Regions from separate parts of the Homo sapiens genome. Here regions 2 and 3 are each linked to region 1. The links are contacts of gene promoters, found by promoter capture Hi-C in human tissues and cell types (Jung and others, 2019). All regions are on one chromosome and are shown on one strand. Each heading gives the region's core, a stretch centred on a gene start or on the middle of the fragment in contact. The rest is flanking DNA. Distances are from core to core; before and after follow the strand shown. Region 1 holds the start of AKAP14 (A-kinase anchoring protein 14). Region 2 holds the start of NKRF (NFKB repressing factor). Region 3 has its middle 13 kb from the start of SLC25A43.

Region 1 (2,700 bases), core at 91-2,590:
GACCATACCTTCCCTCTCTTCCCTCAAGCTCGCATTTCCCCTTTATTATTATTATTTATTATTATTATTATTGTTATTATTTGAGACGGAGTCTAGCTCTTGTTGCCCAGGTTGGAGTGCAGTGGTGCAATCTTGGCTCACTGCAACCTCTACTTCCCGGGTTCAAGCGATTCTCCTGCCTCAGCCTCCCAAGTAGCTGGGATTACAGGTGCCCCCCACCATGCCCAGCTAATTTTTGTATTTTTGGTAGAGACAGGGTTTCACCATATTGGCCAGGCTGGTCTCCAACTCCTGATCTCAGGTGATCTGCCTGCCTTGGTCTCCCAAAGTGCTGGGATTACAAGCGTGAGCCACTGCACCTGCCCTTGCATTTCTCCTTTAAATACTGAAGCCTAGGCCGGGCGTGATGGCTCAGGCCTGTAATCCCAGCACCATCAGAGGCCGAGGTGCATGGATCGCCTAAGGTCAAGAGTTCGAGACCAGCCTGACCAACATGGTGAAATCCCGTCTCTATTAAAAATACAAACACTAGCTGGGTGTGGTGGCAGGAGCCTGTAATCCCAGCTACTTGGGAGGCTGAGGCAGCAGAATCGCTTGAACCCGGGAGGCAGAGGTGGCAGTGAGCCAAGATCGTGCCATTGCACTCCAGCCTGGGCAACAAGAGTGAAACTCCATCTCAAACAAACAAACTAAAACCTGAAGCCTGGCCAGGTGGGGTGGCTCATGGCTGTAATCCCAGCACTTTGGGAGGCTGGGGCAGGAGGATAGCTTGAGCTCAGGAGTTCGAGACCAGCCTGGGCAACAGAGCGAGACCTTGTCTCTACAAATAATTTAAAAATTGGCCAGGTGTGGTGGTGGCACACCTATAGTCCCAGCTACCTGGGAGGCTGAGGTGGGAGAATCACTTGAGCCCAGGCAGTGGAGGCTGGGGTGAGCCATGACTGTGCCACTGCATTTCAGCCTGGGTGACAGTGAGACCCTGTCTTTAAATAAATAAATAAATACTGAAGCCCTCAAAGTCATCTTTGGAGAAAGGCACAGACCTGTCTCCCAGACACATCCTTAACCTTGGCAAAATAAACTGGTAAATTGAGACCTGTTTCAGATACTTTTTGGTTTGCAAAGCAATGAAGTACACATGGGAAGTCCTAACCTCAGAATTTGGAAATGAAAAAGTAAAAGCTCAGCCAAAGAAGTCAGCTTTGGGTGTGAGTTTGGGACAGTACTTTCTGTACCTCAGTCTGTTCAACTGCAATATGCAAATACTAATACCTCATAATGCTATTGTGAGGAGTAAATGACTTCAGACACTGAAGGCTTAACACAGTGACTGGCATATCATAGGGATGCCCAATACATACCAGCTGTGAGGCTTATCACCACTGTTCTTCCTGGCATGGCCCTGTAAGCTCATCTTCGGCTGAAGAGAAGCTAGGTATAGCTACTACAGTTTGGTCCTATTATTGCGGTCAGACAGTTGCTGTGATTGGCTCTCCCCTCCTTCCCTCACCCCCTCCCATCTTACCCTCTGTTATTAACATAAGCAGTCAGAAACATGTAGGCTATGCTTCCCATTGGTTGAAATTGTTGTTTCCTTGGCAGCACTTGCAAACATTCCATCTGGCAATCTGAGAGAAGCTACTGAGAGAATCCTGAGACATCCCCAGCCACCTACCACTGCTCCTGTTCCAAGCAAAGAAGATCTGCTCACTCCGGTACTGGGGATTCTCCGGGGTGGGGGAGTCCACAGAAAGGACTTGCAGTGGTTCTCCCTATTCATCACCCAGACCCCAAACGTTACCATTCCCCCCATCTCTTCCTACCCACCCTGCCTATCTGGCCTCTGAGAAGGGGAGGGGAGGAGAGGGGAGGGGAGGGGAGGGGAGGACAAGGGAGAGGGAGGGGGAGGGGAGGGGAGCGGAGGGGAGGGGAGAGGAGGGGAGGGAAGGGAAGAAAAATAACTAGGAGATGCCAGTGGGAGGGAGGCTTAAGAATGGTGTGGGCCCACAGACGTGTGAGGGTAAAAATTGAGCTTCTTCCTGGGCACTGCTCCCCATCTTCCCTCTCCTGTTGGAGCACAGGCTCCCCAGGGAAAGTCTTAAGGAGGTCCTTCCATGCATAAAGCACACACCCCATGTGCTTCGTGTTGGAGGTCACAGATTTGACTTCTCATCGATTTATCAATAGGAAATTTGCTGAAAGCAAAGTTACTGAATGTCCAAGTTACCAAATGGGCAATTTTCTTTTCTTTTCTTTTTTTCTTTTTTTTTTTTTTTGAGACAGAGTCTCGCTCTGTCGCCTAGGCTGGAGTGCAGCAGCGCGATCAAGGCTCACTGCAACCTCCGCCTCTGGTTTCAAGTGATTCTCCTGCCTCAGCCTCCCGAGTAGCTGGGACGACAGGCATGCACCACCATGCCTGGCTAATTTTTGTATTTTTAGTAGAGACGGGATTTTGCCATGTTGGCCAGGCTGGTTTCGAACTCCTGACCTCAGGTAATCCTCCCACATTGGCCTTCCAAAGTGCTGGGATTACAGGTGTGAGCCACCGCGCCCGGCCCCAAATGGACAATTTTCTTTCTTTCTTTTCTTCTTTCCTTCTTTCTCTCTTTCTTTCTTTTCTTTTTTGAGGTGGAGTTGCACTCTGTTGCCCAGGCTGGAGTGAAGTGGTGAGATCTTGGCTCACTGCAAACTCTGCCTCCC
Region 2 (2,700 bases), core at 53-2,552, 290 kb before region 1:
AGGCTGACGCTGCTGCGGCTCAGAGAGCTGATACGTACCGCCTCCCCAGGAGAAGACAGTAAGACCCTGCTAGGGGGCTGCAAGTAGAGGGGGGTATTTAAGAGGAATGGAAAAAGAGAGTGGTCAGGAGGAGACTAGAACAGTGGGGTCCCCTCGCCCTTCCCCCACAACTCCAACTGTCGAATATATTCTCTGCGGATACTGCATCCTTGGAAGGCCCTACGCAGGTCCGAGATGCTGCTATTCATCATTCCCCACGTCCTCTAATACCGCCACCAACTACAATGACCACCTCTCAATAATCCTCTTCTAGGCGCTGCTTCATCTCCATCCCTGGTCCTGGAGAGGCCGCTTCCGCGATCTCTGCACCCTCCTAGCTGTTATGTCATGCCCAGCCACCACAGTCGGCCACCCCACCCCCAGGCCAATAGTGATCCCTCTAGTGCCCTCCAGCACCTCCAAATCTCCAGCCTCCAACCTATCCTCCGCATCCCGCCCCCGTCCCTATCCCAACCACCATCATCGATCCCTCCAGCGCCGTCCCTAACCCGATCCCCCATCACCGATCTCTCACCCCCGTCCCTAACCCGACACCCACACCTTCCTCACCTGCAGCCCAGGAAGACGTGGTTGGTCCAGGCGGCGGAGAGCGCGAGGAGCTGGTCGAGGGCAGCCCCGGGATAGCTGTGCAGGTGCCGACAGATGAAGCTGCGCCGCAGAGCCCACTGCCAGTCACTTTCGTGGCTATAGCGCCACTGCTCCAGCACTGGCTCGGGCGGGGGCGGCGGGAGGGGCGGCAGCGGCGGCGGCGGGAGGGGGGGCAGCGGCGGCGCGACAGGAAGTCGCCCCCCAACAGCAGACGTCCTCCAGCCATCTTCTCCGCCCCCAAGCAGGGACCCCAGGGACGAAGCCGACTACGGACCGCGAGCTAGGCAGCTAGCAAGCGGGCGGAAACGGGGGGCCGGTGGGAGGGGCCGGGTAAGGAGGGGCGCGCTGAGGGGAGAAGATCAACTCTCGGGGGGACTGGAGTGTGTGCGTGGGGGCCACCGTTAGGAGGAAAAGAGGAGCACGAGCTCGCGTCCCGACACTGGGATGCACGTCCCCTACACTCCTCTAACTCGTGGAGGAGCAGAAGGGCTTCCGCCGCACTCACGCGCGAGCCGGGGAGGCCGAGTCAGGCTCCGCACCTCCACGGATCCGCAGACCCACGCACTGCGCGGAGAGCGATAAAAGACCCCAGCACGCTCTGCTCCCCTCCTCTAGGTTCTAGCCTACCTACCCGCGTGCCGTCCGGGGTTGTGAGGCCAGTGCGCTTGCGCCGCGGCTGTTCCCTAACTTCCAAATCCCGTCGCAGAATCTCGCGCGACGTACTTTTTTCCCTCCAGTGACGACTACGGGCCTTTGACGCACTACGGTGACAAGCGGAGGGCGGGGACTCCAGAAAGGGAATTTAGGAAGGTTCTCTGAGGTTCGAGAATATGGTTAGAAGGTGCCCTCAGATGAATGTTGGTAGCCCACGGCTCGTCTGACGCTTTTCCCTGGATTTTTAAGCGGCGCGACAGTGAGACCATGTTCCTTGTAAGGGATTTAGGTCTGCACTGGACTTTACATTAAAACAAAACAAAACAGTCAGCTCCCCGAGGTGCCTTTTCTTCAGAGAGTAGCTTGAAATGCTCTGTGCATCGTGCATCATTAGCTTTGTGTAATAGCTTACTGCGGAAACGTAGTAAAAATGAAACACTTGCCAAGAAAATCATCCACAGCGCCGCTTCTCAAGTTAGCCAGTTTCAAGTCCATACTGTATCCCAATTACGAACACAGATACTGTTTACACAGTTCTGATCACGATTGCAAGTCTGTATTTCACGTATCAACTTAAGTGCAAAAGATTACAAGATACAAAAGGGGCCCACAGAAGAGGGTACTGCAAGGTAGAGCCGCTCAATCACTGTAGCCAAATGTATCACTCCACCCGGAGTCAGCTTCACTCAATAACTTCAGTCCCTATCTGCCAACCTGTGTCACGAAAGCAGTTAATCAATGAGTGTCTGTCGGCGGGAATTTACACAGCACCTACTGTGTGCTCAATACAGCAAGAGTACAAAAAAGAAGGAAAGAAAGTGGGTTTTCTCTGTTGTCCTGGAATTGACTACAATCTTGGTGGGGAGAAATAGCCCTGCATAAAACTAAATGTTCCACCAGGAGCCGGACCATTGGATGAGGTGGCTTTAACACACTACCATCTTTAACTCTTTAATGACGTATTTCTAATTATATGACACTTTATGTTAGGGGTGTATTAGACTGAGAGGAGCAGAAGATAACAGCACTTTACACACTTTCATAATTTATTTCCACGTCTGTCTTTCTCCGTGGTGGGCATTCATGTTTATTGGGGTAACAATCGAAATGTTTTTAAAAAGTTCACAAGGTGATACATGCTGTGAAGAAAATAAAACAGGCTGGGTGCGGTGGCTCACGCCTGTAATCCCAGCACTTTGGGAGGCCGAGGCAGGAGGATTACTTGAGGTCAGGAGTTCGAGACCAGCCTGGCCAACATGGTGAAACCCCTGTCTCCACTAAAAATACAAAAATTAGCCGGGCGTGGTGGCAGGCGCCTGTAATCCCAGCTACTCCGGAGGCTGAGGCAGGAGAATCGCTTGAACCCGGGAGGCAGAGGTTGCAGTGAGCCAATATCGC
Region 3 (2,700 bases), core at 116-2,615, 510 kb before region 1:
CTTCCCTAAAGGGAAGAGGGTTCCCTGAATATCCTATGTGAGTATTCAGGTCTGCTTAACAGTTATAGTTCTCACTGTCAATTAATAAACTGACATTTTGGTTCATATATATCTGTAACTTATGAGTAGAATCATTCATTCATTCATATATTTAACAAATATTTATTGAGTGCCTAGTAGGCTACAGTTTTAAATGCCAAAAATATAGAAGTATACCAAACAGATAAAACCTCTGCCCTCACAGAGCTTACATCTTAGTAGGCTAAAGAGAGACAGATTTTGGCCCAGAGTGGTGGCTCACACCTGTAATCCCAGCACTTTGGGAGGCTGAGGTGGGCGGATCACTTGAGGTTAGGAGTTTGAGACCAGTCTGGCCAACATGGTGAAACCCCATCTCTACTAAAAATACAAAAAATTAGCCACATGTGGTGGTGCATGCCTGTAATCCCAGCTACTCAGGAAGCTGAGGCAGGAGAATTGCTTGAACCCAGGAGGCAGAGGTTGCAGTGAGCCAAGATCGAGCCACTGCACTCCAGCCTGGGCAACAGAGCAGGACTCTGTCAAAAAAAAAAAAAAAAAGAGAGAGAGAGAGAGGTTTTTTTAAGAAAAATATATAGTGTGTCAGATGGATAGTGGTAAATTCTATAGAAAACAAGAAAGCAGGGAAGGGGGACAGAATGTACCAAGGTGGGGGTTACAATTTTAAACAGAGTATTCAGGCCTCACTGGGAAGAAGACATTTGAGCAAATCTCTGAAGGAGGTGAAGAAGCAACCATTCAGATGGCTATGGAAAAGCATTCCAGGCAGAAGAGACACCAAGCGCAGAGGCCTGAGGTGGGGAGTGCCTGGTTTGTTTATGGATCAGCAGAAAGGCCAGTGTGACTGAAGTAGAGTGAACACAGGAGAGAGTAGTGGCGAGGAGTCAGAGAGATAATGTGGGGGCAGTGGGGGGATGAGGGAAAGATTGTGTAGGGCCTTGCAGAGCAGTATTAGGATTTTGGATTTTTGAGATGTAGAGTCATTGGAGGGTTCCAAACAGTGAAGTGACACCATCTGACTTTCATGCTAAAAGGATCAATTGGCCGTATGTGGTGGCTCACGCCTGTAATCCCAGCACTTTGGGCCGAAGTGGAAGGATCACGAGATCAGGAGTTCGAGACCAGCCTGGCCAACATGGTGAAACCCTGTCTCTACTAATACAAAAATTAGTCAGGTGTGGTGCTGTGCACCTGCAGTCCCAGCTACTAGGGAGGCTGAGGCACAAGAATTGCTTGAGCCCGGGAGCAGAGTTTGCAGTGAGCCAGGATCACAACACTGCACTCCAGCCTGGGTGACAGAGTAAGACTATGTCTCAAAAAAAAAAAAAAAAGTTTCCATTTGCCACGATGGGGAAGGCAAGGGAGGGACAGATTTGGTGGGGTAGATCAGGGGTCTCACTTGAGACACTTTATGATTGAGATGCATATGAAATATCTAAGTGGAGCTACTAAAGGGGCCTCTGAACATGGTGTGTCCGGAATTGGTGGGTTCTTGGGTCTCACTGACTTCAAGATTGAAGCCGCGGACCCTCGCGGTGAGTGCTACAGCTCTTAAGGTGGCGCGTCTGGAGTTTGTTCCTTCTGATGTTCGGATGTGTTCAGAGTTTCTTCATTCTGGTGGGTTCGTGGTCTTGCTGGCTCAGAAGTGAAGCTGCAGACCTTCGCGGTGAGTGTTACAGCTCTTAAAGAAGCACGTCTGGAGTTGTTCGTTCCTCCGGTGGGCTTGTGGTCTCGCTGGCTTCAGGAGTGAAGCTGTAGATCTTCCCAGTGAGTCTTACAGCTCATAAAAGCAGTGTGGACCAAAAGAGTGAGCAGTAGCAATAGCAAGATTTACTGCAAAGAGGAAAAGAACAAAGCTTCCACACTATGGAAAGGGACCCACGTGGCTTGCCACTGCTGGCTCCAGCAGCCTGCTTTTATTCTTTTATCTGGCCCCACCCACATCCTGCTGATTGGTAGAGCCGAGTGGCCTGTTTTGACAGGGCACTGATTGGTGCATTCACAATCCCTGAGCTAGATACAAAGGTTCTCCACGTCCCCATCAGATTAGTTAGACACAGAGTTTCGACACACAGGTTCTCCAAGGCCCCACCAGAGCAGCTAGATACAGAGTGTCAATTGGTGCATTCACAAACCTTGAGCTAAACACAGGGTGCTGATTGGTGTGTTTACAAACCTTGAGCTAGATACAGAGTGCTGATTGGTGTATTTACAATCCCTGAGCTAGACATAAAGGTTCTCCAAGGCCCCACCAGAGCAGCTAGATACAGAGTGTCCATTGGTGCACTCATAAACCTTGAGCTAAACACAGGGTGCTGATTGGTGTGTTTACAAACCTTGAGCTAGATATAGAGTGCCGATTGGTGTATTTACAATCCCTGAGCTAGACATAAAGGTTTTCCAAGGCCCCACCAGAGTAGCTAGATACAGAGTGTCCATTGGTGCATTCACAAACCCTGAGCTAGACACAGGGTGCTGATTGGAGTGTTTACAAACCTTGAGCTAGATACAGAGTGCCGATTGGTGTATTTACAATCCCTGAGCTAGACATAAAGACTCTCCACGTCCCCACCAGACTCAGGAGCCCAGCTGGGTTCACCTAGTGGATCCCGCACTGGGCCTGCAGGTGGAGCTGCCTGCCAGTCCCGCGCCGTGCGCTCG

What was found. The method cuts DNA at HindIII sites, captures the fragments that hold promoters and counts their contacts. A contact is called where the count stands out against the background at its distance.
Region 2: the fragment with the promoter of NKRF here is called in contact with the fragment with the promoter of AKAP14 in region 1 in 1 of the 25 tissues and cell types used here (adrenal gland).
Region 3: a fragment that was not itself captured here is called in contact with the fragment with the promoter of AKAP14 in region 1 in 1 of the 25 tissues and cell types used here (pancreas).

Annotation. Positions count from the first base shown.
Region 1 is chrX:119,894,553-119,897,252 of GRCh38, forward strand. It overlaps AKAP14 (A-kinase anchoring protein 14), which reads left to right and starts at 1,341. Exons shown (of 7, transcript NM_178813.6): 1 at 1,341-1,435; 2 at 1,603-1,715. The HindIII fragment of the contact is 18,586 bases long and covers 1-2,700 here.
Region 2 is chrX:119,605,122-119,607,821 of GRCh38, forward strand. NKRF (NFKB repressing factor) reads right to left here and starts at 1,303. Exons shown (of 4, transcript NR_163972.1): 1 at 610-1,303. RefSeq lists a silencer at 837-886 and an enhancer at 1,427-1,536. The HindIII fragment of the contact is 14,426 bases long and covers 1-2,700 here.
Region 3 is chrX:119,384,885-119,387,584 of GRCh38, forward strand. No RefSeq gene overlaps it. Among named protein-coding and RNA genes, the nearest start is that of SLC25A43, 13 kb to the right of the region's middle. The HindIII fragment of the contact is 4,136 bases long and covers 1-2,700 here.